Linked DNA regions of Homo sapiens: regions 2 and 3 are each linked to region 1. Evidence: promoter capture Hi-C in 16 types of primary human blood cells and fetal thymus (Javierre and others, 2016). All regions are on one chromosome and are shown on one strand. Each heading gives the region's core, a stretch centred on a gene start or on the middle of the fragment in contact. The rest is flanking DNA. Distances are from core to core; before and after follow the strand shown.

What was found. Contacts are between HindIII fragments. The CHiCAGO score rates a contact against its expected background, and 5 or more counts as called.
Region 2: a fragment that was not itself captured here is called in contact with the fragment with the promoter of AVPR1A in region 1 in 1 of 17 cell types (megakaryocytes); the score reaches 5.3 in megakaryocytes.
Region 3: a fragment that was not itself captured here is called in contact with the fragment with the promoter of AVPR1A in region 1 in 1 of 17 cell types (megakaryocytes); the score reaches 6.0 in megakaryocytes.

What each region holds. Positions count from the first base shown.
Region 1 is chr12:63,148,655-63,153,619 of GRCh38, forward strand. AVPR1A (arginine vasopressin receptor 1A) reads right to left here and starts at 2,547. Exons shown (of 2, transcript NM_000706.5): 1 at 1,213-2,547. The coding sequence starts at 2,182. The HindIII fragment of the contact is 3,248 bases long and covers 1-2,754 here.
Region 2 is chr12:63,312,600-63,317,564 of GRCh38, forward strand. The region is part of intron 1 of LINC03056 (long intergenic non-protein coding RNA 3056); the gene reads right to left. Among named protein-coding and RNA genes, the nearest start is that of LINC03056, 59 kb to the right of the region's middle. The HindIII fragment of the contact is 3,154 bases long and covers 1,393-4,546 here.
Region 3 is chr12:63,293,448-63,298,412 of GRCh38, forward strand. All of the region lies in intron 1 of LINC03056 (long intergenic non-protein coding RNA 3056), which reads right to left. Among named protein-coding and RNA genes, the nearest start is that of LINC03056, 78 kb to the right of the region's middle. The HindIII fragment of the contact is 1,297 bases long and covers 2,315-3,611 here.

The sequences.
Region 1 (4,965 bases), core at 1,297-3,796:
TAAGATCAAGCAAGATAAGAAATAGCAAACCAAAAATAAAGTGTTTATATTGTATTTTTCATTATCGCTAGTATTATAGTCAGTAAGAATATTTAAGTTAAATTCATACTGAAATGTTTTATTTGCAAATATAACTTCCAAAGCATATTACATACCTCCCCTACTCCAATTCCAAAAAGCAAAAGGAGAACAGCTACTCCCAGATACCTATTTCCTGTTACCAGAAACATTCTGGTAACAACTGTACCATTGAATTTATTTGGTTTGAGTTCCGACAAGCACTGGAATTTATTTAGTTTGAGTTTTTGTCTTTACTAGAAGAAAATATTTTCAAGATGCAAAATTAAATAATTTTTTTTGCAAGTCACTGTGAAGTTAGTTTTTCTAGTTTGGGAAGGAATTAAAATCAAACACAATAGTAGGTGCAGAGAACATTTCCAGTAAACTACTGTAAGAGTTGGGTGGAGAGATGTAGAGCCGTGTGGTCAAATGAGTGGTGAAAGACTAATGAATTAGTCTAATGAATTTAGTTTATCAATAATTCTGCTTTGAAATACCAAGAAAAAACTATTAATCATTGTTAGAAAAAAATAGATTATAACGAGAAAGGAACATTATTAGCTAAATGCCAAATTGGAATTACTCACCTTCTAAAGAATTTTTCTCCAGCTTTCTTTAGAAATATATATCTGTTTCTATCCTTGCCCCTGAGGCATTTCTACACATTTTTAAAATTAATTGTAATACTTTTCACAATCCAACAAAAAGCAGTTGTGACAGTAAAAATATTTCCCTGAATCCAATAGACCTGAAATGGTGTTAATACAGTAGCTAGTGATTTAGCAAAAGTCATTCTTCGGCTTTGTAGTTGCTTGGCTGACTCTAGGACACAGTTTCTGGAATTGTGGTCTTAGGATCATTGCACACTACAAATGCAGAGTCCTGAGCCCCATTCCAGACATTCTTAATTAGAATGTCTGCATGGGGAATCCAGGAATATGCTTTTTTTTTTTTTAAACAGTGTTCCTCCAAGGTGCGACTCTTATGTACACATAGAAGTTTAAAAACTACTGCCCTAGAAGATACTATGAAGAAAATTGCTAGATTCTCATTTTTTTCTCTCTCTCTCTCTCTCTCTCTCTCTCACACACACACACACACACACACACACACTCCTATCCCTGCACTTTCCTCTATTTTCCCGGCACGTACCGGTCCAGACGGACATGGGATCCCAGACAGACCACATCTGGATGATGAAGAAAGGCGCCCAGCAGACGATGTAAGCCGTCACGATCACAAAAGTCATCTTCACCGTGCGGATCTTGGCCCGGGAAATGGACTTCACGCTGCTGACACAGGGTGCGAGCAGGAACCCCTTTTGGAAGGCCACACCCGCTTGCTCTGCACCCTTGCTCTGGCGCGACGCCGTCTTCCCGCGGACGTTGCACCAGATGTTGTAGCAGATGAAGCCGTAGCAGGTACCCAAGATGACCACGGGCGCCACAAAGATGCCGCCCGTCATCCAGGTCACGTAGGCACGAGAACCCCAGGGCTGGATGAAGGTGGCCCAGCAGTCGCGGGCCTTGGTGACATTGTTCACCTCGATCATGGAGAAGACGAAGTACTGCGGCGTGCTCAGCACGAAGCTCAGCACCCAGGCGGCCGCGATCATGAGGCGCGAGCGGCGCGCGGGCTGTTGCAGAGTCTTGAGCGGGTGGCACACCGCGATGTAGCGGTCGGCTGTCATGACTACCAGCATGTAGGCCGACGCAAACATGCCGAACACCTGCAGGTGCTTCACCACGCGGCACAGCCAGTCGGGGCCGCGGAAGCGGTAGGTGATGTCCCAGCACATTTGCGGCAGCACCTGGAAGAATGCCACGGCCAGGTCGGCCAGGCTGAGGTGTCGGATGAAGAGGTGCATGCGGGACGTCTTGCGCGGCGTCCGGTGCAGAGCCAGCAGTACGCTGCTGTTGCCCAGCACGGCCACCGCGAAAGTCACCGCCAGCACGGCGATCTCCAGTTTGGCCAGCTCCTCGTTGCGCACGTCCCTCGGTGGGCCGTTGCCCTCCCCGAGGGCTTCGGCCTCCCGGCTTGTGTTGCCAGCGCCGGTGGCCAGAGGCCACCATGGGCTGGAGTTGCCCGAGGGCCCCGCGTCGGGACCGGCGGAGAGACGCATGCTGTCCATGCAGCTCCTACTCGGCCCTCTTCGGAGCTCCAGCCCTCGCGGGCCGCTCCCTCCCCGTCTCGGAGGACTTGGGCTCCTCGTCCGAAGCGCAGGGTCTTTGGCGCGCTCGCAGCTTGCCGGGCTCTGCGATCCCTCCAGTGGGCGTCTCCCGGAGCAGCGTCCCGCCTGCCCACTGAGCAGCTCTCAGCAGGGTGAGCTGGCCCCTCTCCCTGCTCTGCCTTTTTTCAACTTCGGCGAGGTCGGGAAGGTGAGCTCCGAGCTTCCGGAAGCACTGGGTTCCCAACTCAAGTATTTATGCGGTGCTTGTTTCCTTGGGACGCGCTCCCTCCCGCCCTATTGCCGGAAGACTGCTGGTTGCCTACTCCCCGCTCCCTGGAGTTTTATTTTTTCCTCTCCCTACGTCGGTGTTTGTCCTCTGCATCACTGTGGAGGGGGTGGAGCTGGGAGACTCGCAGATTCCTCCTCACAGTAGGTGGGATCGTGGCGCTTTCCCGCTTTTCCCTTCCAAAAACTTGGACAACTGGACGAGTCATGCCTTTTCTGGGCTCGTAGCCGTTTCCACAAGCTTCCCTCACTAGCCTTCCTCGCTAGCCTCCTTAACCATGCATTTGACTTCAACAGGCACGCTAAGCGCGGTACCTGGAAACCTCCAGTCCACGCACCGGCGTCCACGCATCTAGCTCCTGCACCTGAACCTGGCTCTCGACCTCACCTCCTCCAGTCCGGGTTTCTTCCTTCTCACCGAGCTCACCCGTGCAGCAGTCTGGCAAATTTTATTCCCCAGGCAAATTTTCCCGGGGCAAACATTTCTCCCCGCTCGTGACTTAAAGAGCTATCTCTTCCTAGTAACGTCTTTGATGCATGCTATTTATTACCCTATGTTTGCGACGGGAAGAACGCACTCATCACTTTGCAGCCCCAGTGGCTGCTGTGCCTGTATTCACAGCGGGGTTTGGGGGGAGTGTCTCCTGGTTTTCTCTATGGAGACTAGGGACTTAAGGAGTTTTCTCTAGATTCCTGGGGTTTTCTGCGGGAAAAGCCTGATTCCCACAGCGGGGATGGCGGAAATTTGGCCGCAGTGGTCCGTGGGGACCGTCTGGTTACTACTGAGTCGTGGGGACATCTTTTTGGGTGGACAAAGAGCAGCTGCCGGACAGCGGCCATCCAGGCAGTGCTGTCCAGGGCAAGGGACAGAAAACCCGCCCGGCTCCTGTGCTCAGGAGTAAGAAAGAGGCAATCTCAAAGAGAGGAAAGAGGCCCTGGGAAGGAGGGGAAACAACCACCTACCTAGTAATCCGTTACTCTGAACAGCTGGAGCCCCTCTGCAGGGCGGGAGGGAGGCAGAAATGCGATCTCCCTCAGCTCTGTTTTAACGTTGGTGAAGATATGCCTCGACGGACAGCAAGGGGGAGCTGTTTTCAGGCAATTTTACAAGGAAGAAAGGAAGCCGTTTCTGCAGTTATCTGCTGTGTAGATGCAGGAGCATGACTTTGTTGGTCAGAACGTTTCAGTATTGTGGCCGTGGTATAAATTTAATTGCCTCAGAAAAATATCACCCTCTGTGAAACGTAGGCAAAAAATGCAAAAGATTTTATTCATTGCAGTTCTCAGTAATAATTCCACTTTACTATCCAGTCCGTTCATGCAGAGTTACCAAGGTTGTCACGTTGAGATGCTGGACTTGAAATCTGGAGTCCTGCTTCCTGTGGCTAGATAATCCTGGGTCTGTGCGTCTTATAAATGGAAATGAAAGGACCTGCCTTTCCTGTTGTTGAGGTCATCGGGAAGATCAAGTAAGACAATGTTCTGTATGGGGGAAATGCTCTAAAAACTGAAAGCTGTGTTGTGTTGGTTCATTTTCTCCAAGATATCCAGGAGGCAGAAGATTGAAATGGTTCAGGGATGGAAGGTAATAGGTAAAAGGTTTCCAGACCACCTGTCTGGAAAAAATCCTTCAAGCAATTAGGTAATAGTCACTGACTCAGAGAATTCACTTTCTTTTAAGTCACAAATTACACTATTAGTGCTCCTGATGAGAAAGAATGTTGACTGAACCTAGTGTCTGGGTATTGCAAAAGTGGTTTGTTGGCCACAGCCTAGTAATTTTGTGGCTCTTGGCCCTACACACTTGAGCTTTTAGGTTTTTTTCAGGAGAGGAAATCTGCAATACAGGCTCACCAATATCTCTGTGGAGGTTCTTATTCCAGGAGATAGGGTGGTGGCCTCTCAGGAAATCATCTGTGTCAGACAATCTGATCCAATTATAAAACTATATCCAATTATCCAAATTATAAAAATAACCTCTCAAGTTATGTTGGTGGATACAGTTGGAAGATATTATTGTTCAGTGACAACAGTACCAATTATCCATATATATCAAATGTATATATGCTTGATACATAGATGTATGTTTATATGTATGCATCTGGCCATTCTATGTATCATGTGTCAATCAATCATCTATCTATCTGTCTATCTATCTATCTATCTATCTATCTATCTATCTATCATCCATCTATCTGTCTCTCGCTGGTTGTGCTGGATGCCATGGGGCCTGGAAAGCAGGAAAAAAAAATGTTCATTGCAGATTGTAGAACCAGTCCCTTTGTTTAATCCATATAGTTTTAAACATGTTTTTGACTTAATTTAACTGGTTTTATATACAAAGGAAAGCAGGACTATTACATATGAGGCACTACTCATATGCCTCACTGGACCTGCTATTAAATTACCCCATAGAGAGTAAAATAATTGTGGTCTTAAAATATGAAAAA
Region 2 (4,965 bases), core at 1,720-4,219, 160 kb after region 1:
TTTCTCTTATGGAGCCCTCCCAGATCAGAGGGGCTTCAAATGGATCTGAAATCTGGGGACCCCTTGCTGCTGGTTTAGCTGCTTGGTCTGCCAACCTATTTTCCTTGGCTATTCATCCATCCCTTTTTGGTGGCCTTTACAATGTATTATTGCCACTTCGTGTGGGAGGAAAACTGAGGATAATAGTCTATTAATTTCCTGATGGTATTTAATGGGAGACCCATTAGCTATGAGGAAGTTCTTCTCTTCCAGATAGTGGCATGGACATGGAGAACTAGGAAAGCATACTTAGAATCAGTATAAATGTTAAATGCTTTCCCTTTGCTTAATTCAAGTACTCTCATGAGGGCAATTAGCTTGGCTAGTTGAGTACTTGTACCCAAGGAGAGAGACGTGCTCTCAACAATATCATTCCGGGTAACTATACCTCTTTATGGATCCCTTGTTCTACAAAAGAACTTTTACTTGTAAAGAGAATCCAGTCTGGGTTCCCTAAGGGGGTTTCCTTGAGGTCCTTTCTGGCTGCATAGGTTTGTACTACTATCTGTTTGCAGTCATGTTCAAGGTCCCCCCCCGCTCTCCGCCCCTGCTTCCTTGGGGAGGAAGGTGGCTCTATTTAGGAAGGGACAGATTCTTAAGTGGACTGCAGATACCTCTAACAGCAGAGCTTGATATCTGAGGAGGTGGTTATCCATTAGCCAGAGACTCCCCTTAGAAGACAGTAGTCCTGCCACATTAATGGTTAAGTTATTCCCCGTGGTTAACCTAGTAGCCTCTGGTACCAGCAAAGCTACCACTGCAACTGCCCAGAGGCAGGCCAGGCATCCTTTTTCTACCAAATCAAGCTCCTTACTTAGGTAGGCTACAGTCTGCTGGATTGAACCCCAGGTCTGAGTTAGAACTCCCAGGGCCATCCCTTCCTTTCTGACACATAAAGATTAAGCATCTTCCCTATGGGAAGACTAAGGGCTGGTACCTTAAGCAAGGCTCATTTTAGTTGGTCAAAGGCCTTTCTAGCCTCTGGTTTCCAAATTAGGGAGTGAGCTTTAGCTGCCTGAGTCTTCTATATTAGGTGACATAAGGGGCAAGCTATTTCACTGTACCCAGGTATCCATAGTCTGCAGAACCCTGTAATGCCCAAGAATCCCCTCAGTTGCTTGAGGGTTTTGGAGAGGGGAAAAAAGAAGATGGGCTTAATCCTTTCTTCACCCAATGCCTTGGTCCTCTCTGAAAGACCAGGTCTAGGTACTTCACTGAAGTCTGACAGAGCTGAGCTTTAGGCTTTGAAATCTTATATCCTCTGTTAGCCAGAAAATTAAGAAGACCCTTACTGCCCTCCTGAGAGATTGCCTCAGTTATGGCACAGAGGAGAATGTCATCTACGTATTGTAAAGCTTTAACCTGAGGATAAGGGAACTCAAAGAGGTCTTTTGAGAATGCCTGGCCAAATAAGCAGGGGCTGTCTTGGAATCCCTGAGGTAACACTGTCCAGGTTAGCTGGGTGGTTTGGTTAGATGGATCTTCAAATGCAAAAAAGTACTGGGAGTCAGGGTTTAATGGTATGCAGAAGGCATGCTTTAGGTCCAGGACTGTGAACTATTTAGTTCCCTCAGGTATTTGAGCTAGCACGGAATACTGATTGGGAGTCACTGGGTGAATTAAAACCACAGCCTCGTTAATGAGGTGGAGGTCCTGAACTAGTCTCCGTTCCCCATTGGGTTTTTGTACCTTAATATTGGGGTACTACAAGGGCTGTTTTTTTATTTTTATTTTTGGACACATCATCCATTTCTTTACTATTCTTCAGAGTCTAAAACTTCCTTATGATACAATGTATAGTCACCCAATCCAGGCTGTTTATTGAAACTTCTATTCTCATTTGGTGGTAAACTTTTTTTTTTACATTTGTTTTACTATCAAAGATTTAGAGTCACAATAAATACAAGTGACAGTCTCCCATCCCCCCAAGAATGCCCCCAATATCCTGCACTAGTGTAATCTTCTGGTCCCAGGGCCTGTTGAGGAGGCCCTGCAACCTTAAGTTATCATTGATGGCTTCTAGTCCTTTCCTAACTTCTGGTTTCAAGGGATACTGTCTCTGGTTAGGAAAGGGGGTGAGATTCTTAAGGTGGATCTGGACCAGTATGGCAGTTGTAACTTGGCCGATTTTGGCTTGAATTGCCTAAATGTCTGGGTTAAAGGTCTCCACCAGGGAGAGACAAAGAATTTGTCCTGGGGCCATCAGGATGGTGGTCCCCATATGGGCCAGAATATCTCTGCCTAAAAGAGGAGTTGGGCTTTCAGGCACAATTAGAAAGGCATGAGTAACAATAGGTTTCCCCAACTACAACTAAGGGGTTGACAAAAATATCAAGTTAAAGGCCTTTCTGAGATGCCCCTCACAGGTCATGCTAAGAGAGAAGAGGGAGTCTGGATTGGAGAGGAGAACTGAGAGACCCACCCCAGTGTCCAGAAGGAGATCCACTTTCCTCCCTTCAATTTCCAGAATTACCCAGGACTCCTGGATGGTAATAGTAGTCTGGACCACCAGGGTGGGGAAGAGGAGCCCTGGGACTCATCAGTCCTGTTGGACTGTTTGGGAGATTGGCTCTGAACCTGGTGACCAGCATCCCTAGGGACAGTCTGCCTTCCAGTGGTCCCAATTGCAGATTGGACAGGGTTGAGGTGGCTTTCTCATGCTGCCTGGGCAATCCTTCCTAAAATGCCCTGGCTTGCCACATTTGAAGCAGTTAACAAGTACACCTCAGGGATTTTGGGATTTGTGGTCTTGCATGGTGACCATTAAAGCCTCTGCATTTTTCCTGTGTCTTCATTCTCTCTCTCTCTCCCTCCCTCCCTCCCTCCCTCCTTCTCTCTCTCTTTCTCCCTCTCTCCTTGGCCTCCCTATCTCTATTATTATATTATTATAAAAGACCGAGGTGGCCACTTTTAGGAAGTTCTCTAAAGTACTATCTGGTCCAACAGCTTGTTTCCGTAGCTTCCTCCTGATATCAGGGGCTGCCTGAGTAATACACTTATTTTTTAGGATTAGTTGTTCCTTAACTGAATCAGGAGCTAGAGAAGTGTGCTTTACCAAGGCCTCTCTTAGCCTTTCCAGGAAGGCAGTGGGATTCTCATCAAATCCCTGATCTATCATGAATAGCTTGGTATAATTGTGAGGCTTAGTTCTAGTCCTACGTAAGCACCCCCATTATGCACACCTGAAAGCGTTTCCTCTTCCATCTCCCATCTCATCATTAGGATCCCATTTAGGGTCATCCAGTGGTACTGATTCTCTTCCAGTTGGATAAAGTTTGTCCCCTTCCCTGACACTATATGAGATACAAAGCTCATTCCCAAATCTCTCTGCCACTTGCAGAGTGGCCTGCTTCTCAGCATTAGTCAGAGTTTGATTCAAAAGTAACATAACATCTTTCCAGGAGAGTTCAAATACTTTGGTTAAATTCTGGAGAGCCTCTATATATCTGTCAAGATCATCTAAAACTTTGCCAAGATCCGCCTTAATTTGCCTTAATTCCTGTAGAGAGAAGGGGACCTGGATTTTACTGGGGCCAAATTCACCAGGCATCTGTTGGAGGGGCATAAGTGGTACTGGGCCTTGTCTAGGGTGAGGATTTCTAGGAGGAGGCAAGCTAAAGAGAGAAACTGGATAGGGAGGCCAAGGTGGATCCAGGGGAGCAGGGCTAGAGGGAGCTGGATCCCCTGCTGGAGGTTTCTCTGGGGTTTGATTTTTTAGTTCCCTGAGATTGACCCGTGCAGCCTCTCCTGAGATGGCAAACAGGAGAGCCGGATCAATCCTACATGTTGGCAAAGGTCTGTATTACCCTGCAAGGTAAAGAAAGCCTACACATATGGGGCCTCAGACCATTTGCCTTTGTGTTTACAGAAAAAGTCCAACTGAAAGATTGTATCAAAATGAATGGTTCCTTCCTGAGGCCAAGCCAGTCCTTCCTGCAGATCATAATATGTCCAAACCTTTGTGCAGAGGGCTATGAGGCATTTTTTCTCCAGGGTCTGAGGGTCAAAACAGTCCCAAAGATTCAGGATACACTCCAGAGGAGTATGGACTGAAGATGGTAAGGATAGTTGGTTGCCCACTCTGAAAGAGAGAGAAATAGGCATACCTTATTTCCCTTCCCTCTTTCAGCAAAAACCCAGGGTGTGAGGGAGAGAACAAAAAAGGGCATACCTCTTTTTCCTTTCATCTTTTCATCCCCGAGTCCTGGCAACCTTAGACAGATGCTGCCCATGAGTGCTGGTGTGACCTGCACCCATGAAACTTGGTGGGGGGGCAGGGGGCGGGGGGCCTGGAAAATAGGATTTATTTGCACTCACCTATGCCTCCACCCTCCCTACTGTAGGCAACCTTTGGGTTCCCTGGGCCTCATCTATGCCATGGAGCTTGGCCTCCTATCATGAAGCGGGGACTTAATCAGCAGGAATTAGTCCTGCCCATCTATGCTATGTCTGTTGCCTGGCTTTGAATCACTCAGATCTAGTTTTCCTTTCTAGGGCTTCAACCTAAAGCTTGGAACCAAGTTTGGAAAAAGGTATCTCAGGGGGTGCATGGATTCATTTAGATTAAGTTACAGATGGGGCTTTTCAAATTTGCAGTTATCAGCTGGTGGGGTCGCTCCTCCATTGCTTCCCTGCCATAAGCAGAGTGTAAGGTAGAAAAAAACACCCTCTTGCATAGAAAAGGAAAAAGAAAAACCAGCTTAAGTGTCAGAGGCACGTGGAGAACCTCTTGCTCTATGCAAATGGGTTCCTTTAATCACCGTATCCTTCCTCTGGTTTGGACTGAGCTGGAGCTCTCCGCCAGGGGAGGGAAGACTCTGTGGACACATGATGGGAGGGAATGACAAGCAGGAAATGCTGGCCAAATGGCTGCATGGGGCCCCTGGCCCCCAAGACTGCCCTGGGGCTTGGGCGGTGACTGTGGTT
Region 3 (4,965 bases), core at 1,713-4,212, 150 kb after region 1:
TCTTTCTTTTCTTTTTTTTTTTGAGATGGAGTTTTGCTCTGTTGCCCAGGCTGGAGTGCAATGGTGCAATCTTGGCTCACTGCAACCTCCGCCTCCCAGGTTCAAGCAATTCTCCTGCCTCACCCTCCCAGGTAGCTGGGATTACAGGCATGTGCCACCAGGCCCGGCTAATTTTTTTTGTATTTTGGAGAGACGGGGTTTCACCATGTTGGTCAGGCTGGTCTCGAATTCCTGACTTCAGGCGATCCACCCACCTCCGCCTCTCAAAGTGCTGGGTGTTCTTATAAGAGTATGTGTTTACTTCTGAGTCGTGTGGTTTTGGGAAGTGGGAGAAGATAAGCTTATGGGAAGGATGCTGGAATGTTGAGCCAACAAATAACAACATACATAAATAATGAAATGGAAGAGCCACAGCAACTTGGGATACTTAAGGCCACTGAGAGAGGGGACAAATTGTTGTTGCTATTGTTGTTTTATTTTGTTTTGGCTTGGGGAATTTAGACCTCCATATCATAATGTGATAAGCAGTGGGACCTCTTAGTATTGTTGAACGTAAAAATAGATTTGGTTTGTTTATGCTTAACTCCAAACCAAGTGGCAGGTTTGGATGGAATGTCCCTCGCAAGTCCAGTGAAATAATTATAACAAGATGTTATACGGCCTGGCACGCTATGAGAGTACAGATTTAAGACTAAAGGATTATAAATAAACTTATAGGGAAGTTTTAGTACTGACACATTCCAAGAGAAAATTTAGAGTATAAAACCTTATACTTTTGAACACATTAGACACTGAGGACTAATGAATTTTAGATAATAATGTTAAGATGAGTTCCACTGAATTCACTGAGGAATCAGTCAGCTCAAGGGTAGGAACAATTAAATTTTCATGTTTCCACAAACAGCAGTCCCGTATGTCACTTATTAACCATCATAGTTACTGGTAAGTTTGTTTTCAAGGTTTCATGTTATTTAAGAAAACAAAGCAGCAGTCAGGCATGACTCAGCCAACAGGCACTCACTGAGTGTCCACAGGAAGCATATTCTAAGGAACACACCACAAAACCTTTCATTCCTAGAAATAAAAGGTGGATTTTCCTTGCCTACCAGACCACATAGTTGTGATATATTTAGCATAAAGAAAATATTACCTTACAGACAGTATATAAAATAGGATCCATTTTGTGGAGATTAAAAGAGTATAAATTATATAGATCAAACTACAGACCTTGTCCAGGCACTGAGTAATGGAAATTTCATTAAAATTACAAACAACAAAAATATATACAAACCAAGTGTATCTCTGGGTGGTGAACACTTTGGAGATTATTCTTCTTGTTTCTTTAGGTCTCTTGATCATTCAACATTCAAAAACATGTTGTGTTCATGTAATTTTAAAGAGGGTTTTTTAGAGAAAGAATAACCAAGTTGTTCTACAAATCTACAAGTAGCTGATAATCTTGGCCTACAATAGGAAAATGCTAGTATAATTGATGGGCTAGGAGGCTGCAAGCAGTAAGTTTAAATTTGGAGCCAACACATCTGTATTTAAATATCTGACAATCTCATTGTTTGTCATTCCTGTCTACAAAATGGCAAAAATGTTCTGTTTCCTTTCTCATTTCACTTAAAACTGAAAATAGTACTCACACAATAGACATTTTGATTAAAACATTGTCACTAGATGGAGCAAAACAGTAGATTAAAGAAATCTGGCTTTTGTCAATGATGAGCTAAGAATTTAAATAGAACAAATCTTGATAAATATCTCAAGTGTAGGTCGCCAAATATGAGAAAACAGCTTTAGGATTTTCAGTAAGGAAAACACTATGAGGATTTCATTCATTAATTCAGCAAATATTTATTAGGTAACAAGGTAGCCTACTCTAAGTGCTGGGACGGAGCAGAAAACAAGACAGGAGTTGTTCCAGTCTCATGTAACATTCATTCATTCTAGTCACAGAGATGAACAGTAACCAAAACAGGGACAAATACTTACATAATCATAGATGGAAGTTTTACAAAAGGTGAAGGGCAGGATGCTACTGAAATTTATCAGGGGTACCATTCTACTCTGAATTATCAGTGAAGACATCATTGGGAGACATTTAATCTGGTCCCTAGTTACAAGTAGAACTTGATCAGGACAACGATGGGGTGGGAGTATAGGGAAAGGGCTTTGGGGAAGAGAGAATCCTAAGTGCAAGATATCTCAGGCATTAAAGAAGGTTAACAAACTGAAAGAACGAAAAATGAAGCTGGAATATGGTGTGGTGGGATAGAAGGGATGAATGGCTTATTAGATTGTGTTAAGAAGCTTAGATATGATCCTAAAAGCAATGAAAAGCTCTTTGGTTAGCACATGAAGCCAACTCAATTCTTGTTTAAATAGTAACTACATATATTGCATATATAAAAATTATTTTATCTCTTGAATTAATCAGTATTGAAATGTAGATTTTCAGAAGTTTTAGAAAACATGTTTTGTAATAGGAGAAAAATCAACATAGGATTTACAGAATTAAAATCTATTCATGATGTGAATCTCATTTAACCAGTATAACTGTTTTACTAAGTCTACATTTACAAAATAGAGACTCATCTCTTTTTTATGCCAATTTACTTTGGAGCCACCACTGTTTCTTGTTAGATGAAATTTCAGGATATCATTCTGGAGGTTTTTCCTACTCCTCAATTTATTCAAGAACACCAGGAACCTAACTCAATCCCAAGTCTATCAGTCCAGCTTCCAAAACTCCAACTGGGTAGGAGCTGGACCCTGGCTAGTGCATCTGTGCCACATGATTGTTCAACGTGGTTCAGCACTGTTGAAGAGCAGCCCTGCATAGATGAGCAGACTGTGATTGTTCACTACTGCTAAAGCACACTCATGATGATCAGGTCCTAGCCCAGGCTTTGGGTGTGCCCATGCTGTGGGGATGCCCATGCTTTCGGGTGTGCCCATGCTGTATGGGGATGATTATTTCTTGTTCTACTTATCATGGACTAATTCAAACATATACCAGAATATAGTATACCCATCATCCAGTTCAGTAATTTTCAGTGTATGGATAATCTTGTTCATCTATATTCTTCCCTACCTATCCTCCTCACACCCAACATTTTAAAGGAAATGCCAGAATCATATCACTTTATTTGTAGTATTATTTGCAGCACTAAAGATAAGGATTATTAAAAAGAAAACCTAAACCCATTTTAAATGTGATGCCATTATCACACTTAAAATATAAATATGTGCATTTTATCATCAACTATCCAACCAGCATTCAAATTCCCCCAGTTGTCTCACAAATGTTTTAATAATTTATTTTTTATAATTTGTTTGTAGAAATCAGAATCCAAATAAAGTTCATAATTGCAACAGGTCTCTTAAGTCTATTTTATTCTGTACGTTCCCCCTCTACCTTTTTTCTTTTTCCATAGATAGATTAGATAGATAGATGATAGATAGATAGAAAGATAGATAGATTTTTTAAGTAAATGATAGTTTGTCCTATTATGTTTTCTATTGTCTGAATTTTGCTGATTGCATCCCATTTGTGCCACTTAACATATTCTTTGATCCTCCTATATTGATGGGAAATTATTAGAAGCTTATTAGATTCAGGTTGGATTATTGGGGTATAATGACTTCATGGGTGGTATTGTGTACTTCCATCAGGAACACTTATCTAAATGTCTTCTTTTCAAATGTTGACAGTAATGGATGACTATTGCCTAGATTCATTAATACATCAATTATGGTTTGCAAAATGTGATATTCTTTCATTTCCTCTTCAGTCCTTGATTGGATATGTCTATTAAAAAAATCTCTTCCTCAAATATTTGGTTACCCTGGGATCATCGGTAAACAACTGAAACCTAATTGAACTTACATCTGTATCACCTTTCTCCTATGCTAAAATTCCTGGTTCCCAATAACACCAACATCATTACTTATTTGCTTTATTCCACAAAACACACAAAATGGTCTCAGAATAGCAACATCACTAGCACATATGGATACCAATAAAGTTTATGAATTTTCTTTTTAATTCCTTTTTGTCTTTAGGTTATAGTCTATAGGCAATGTACATTGGAATCACTGTGCCTTAAGCTTGTCTGAAAAGTTGTGCCACCAACTTAATAAGCAATTAACTTCCATTTTCATTTGCCTTCAACTCTTAGGGGCTGTTTTTCTAAATTAAATTTTGTTCTATATTTGTGCAAAAGATTTACGTGGCCCTAAAGTCAAAACTGCAAGCAAAGTATATTTTTGAAATTTTAGTTTCTATCTTTGTCTTTGCCATACTAGTCTTCCCCTTCTACATAGTAACTTTTTTTTCTCGTAATTTTAAAGTTATCCTTTTATGGTCCTTACCTAGGTAAACAGTAGCATACTATAAACACTTTTTCTCGCTAAGCGATAAAGTAATTTCTAATTTACATTCCCACGTTCAACTGTTGTTTATCAAGTATAATCACTGGAATATAATGACTGAGACCAAATATAATCACTAGAACTACAGCCCCACTCTCATGGACATTAGGAGCCTGTCACTCTTCTGTAACACTGGCTTTTGGTCAGGACCAAATGGTTTATTCTAACAGGTCTCTCTAAACTTTGAATCTTAGAAAGTCCCTAGCCTCTTAAGCCTCCTAATACAAATAGATTCATTCTACCTACTCCCTACTCAGAGCTCAGCATATGGGAAAGACAGCTTTTGTTTAGTCTCACAAAACAAAACAAAACAAAATAAAACATCTAGCTATACATTTCTCTCAGGATACTGAGTTTCTTTCTGCTGAAAGAAGAAAGGGAACGGGCTTTTTGCAAGAGGAATAATCTTTGGTAAACAGATTGCTTCAACATGACCTTCTGTCTCCCCCAGTAAGTAAGAAAGCTGGTAACAGTTTCCCCATAAAACAAGAAAACCAATTCCATGTAAACTAATACTACCAGACA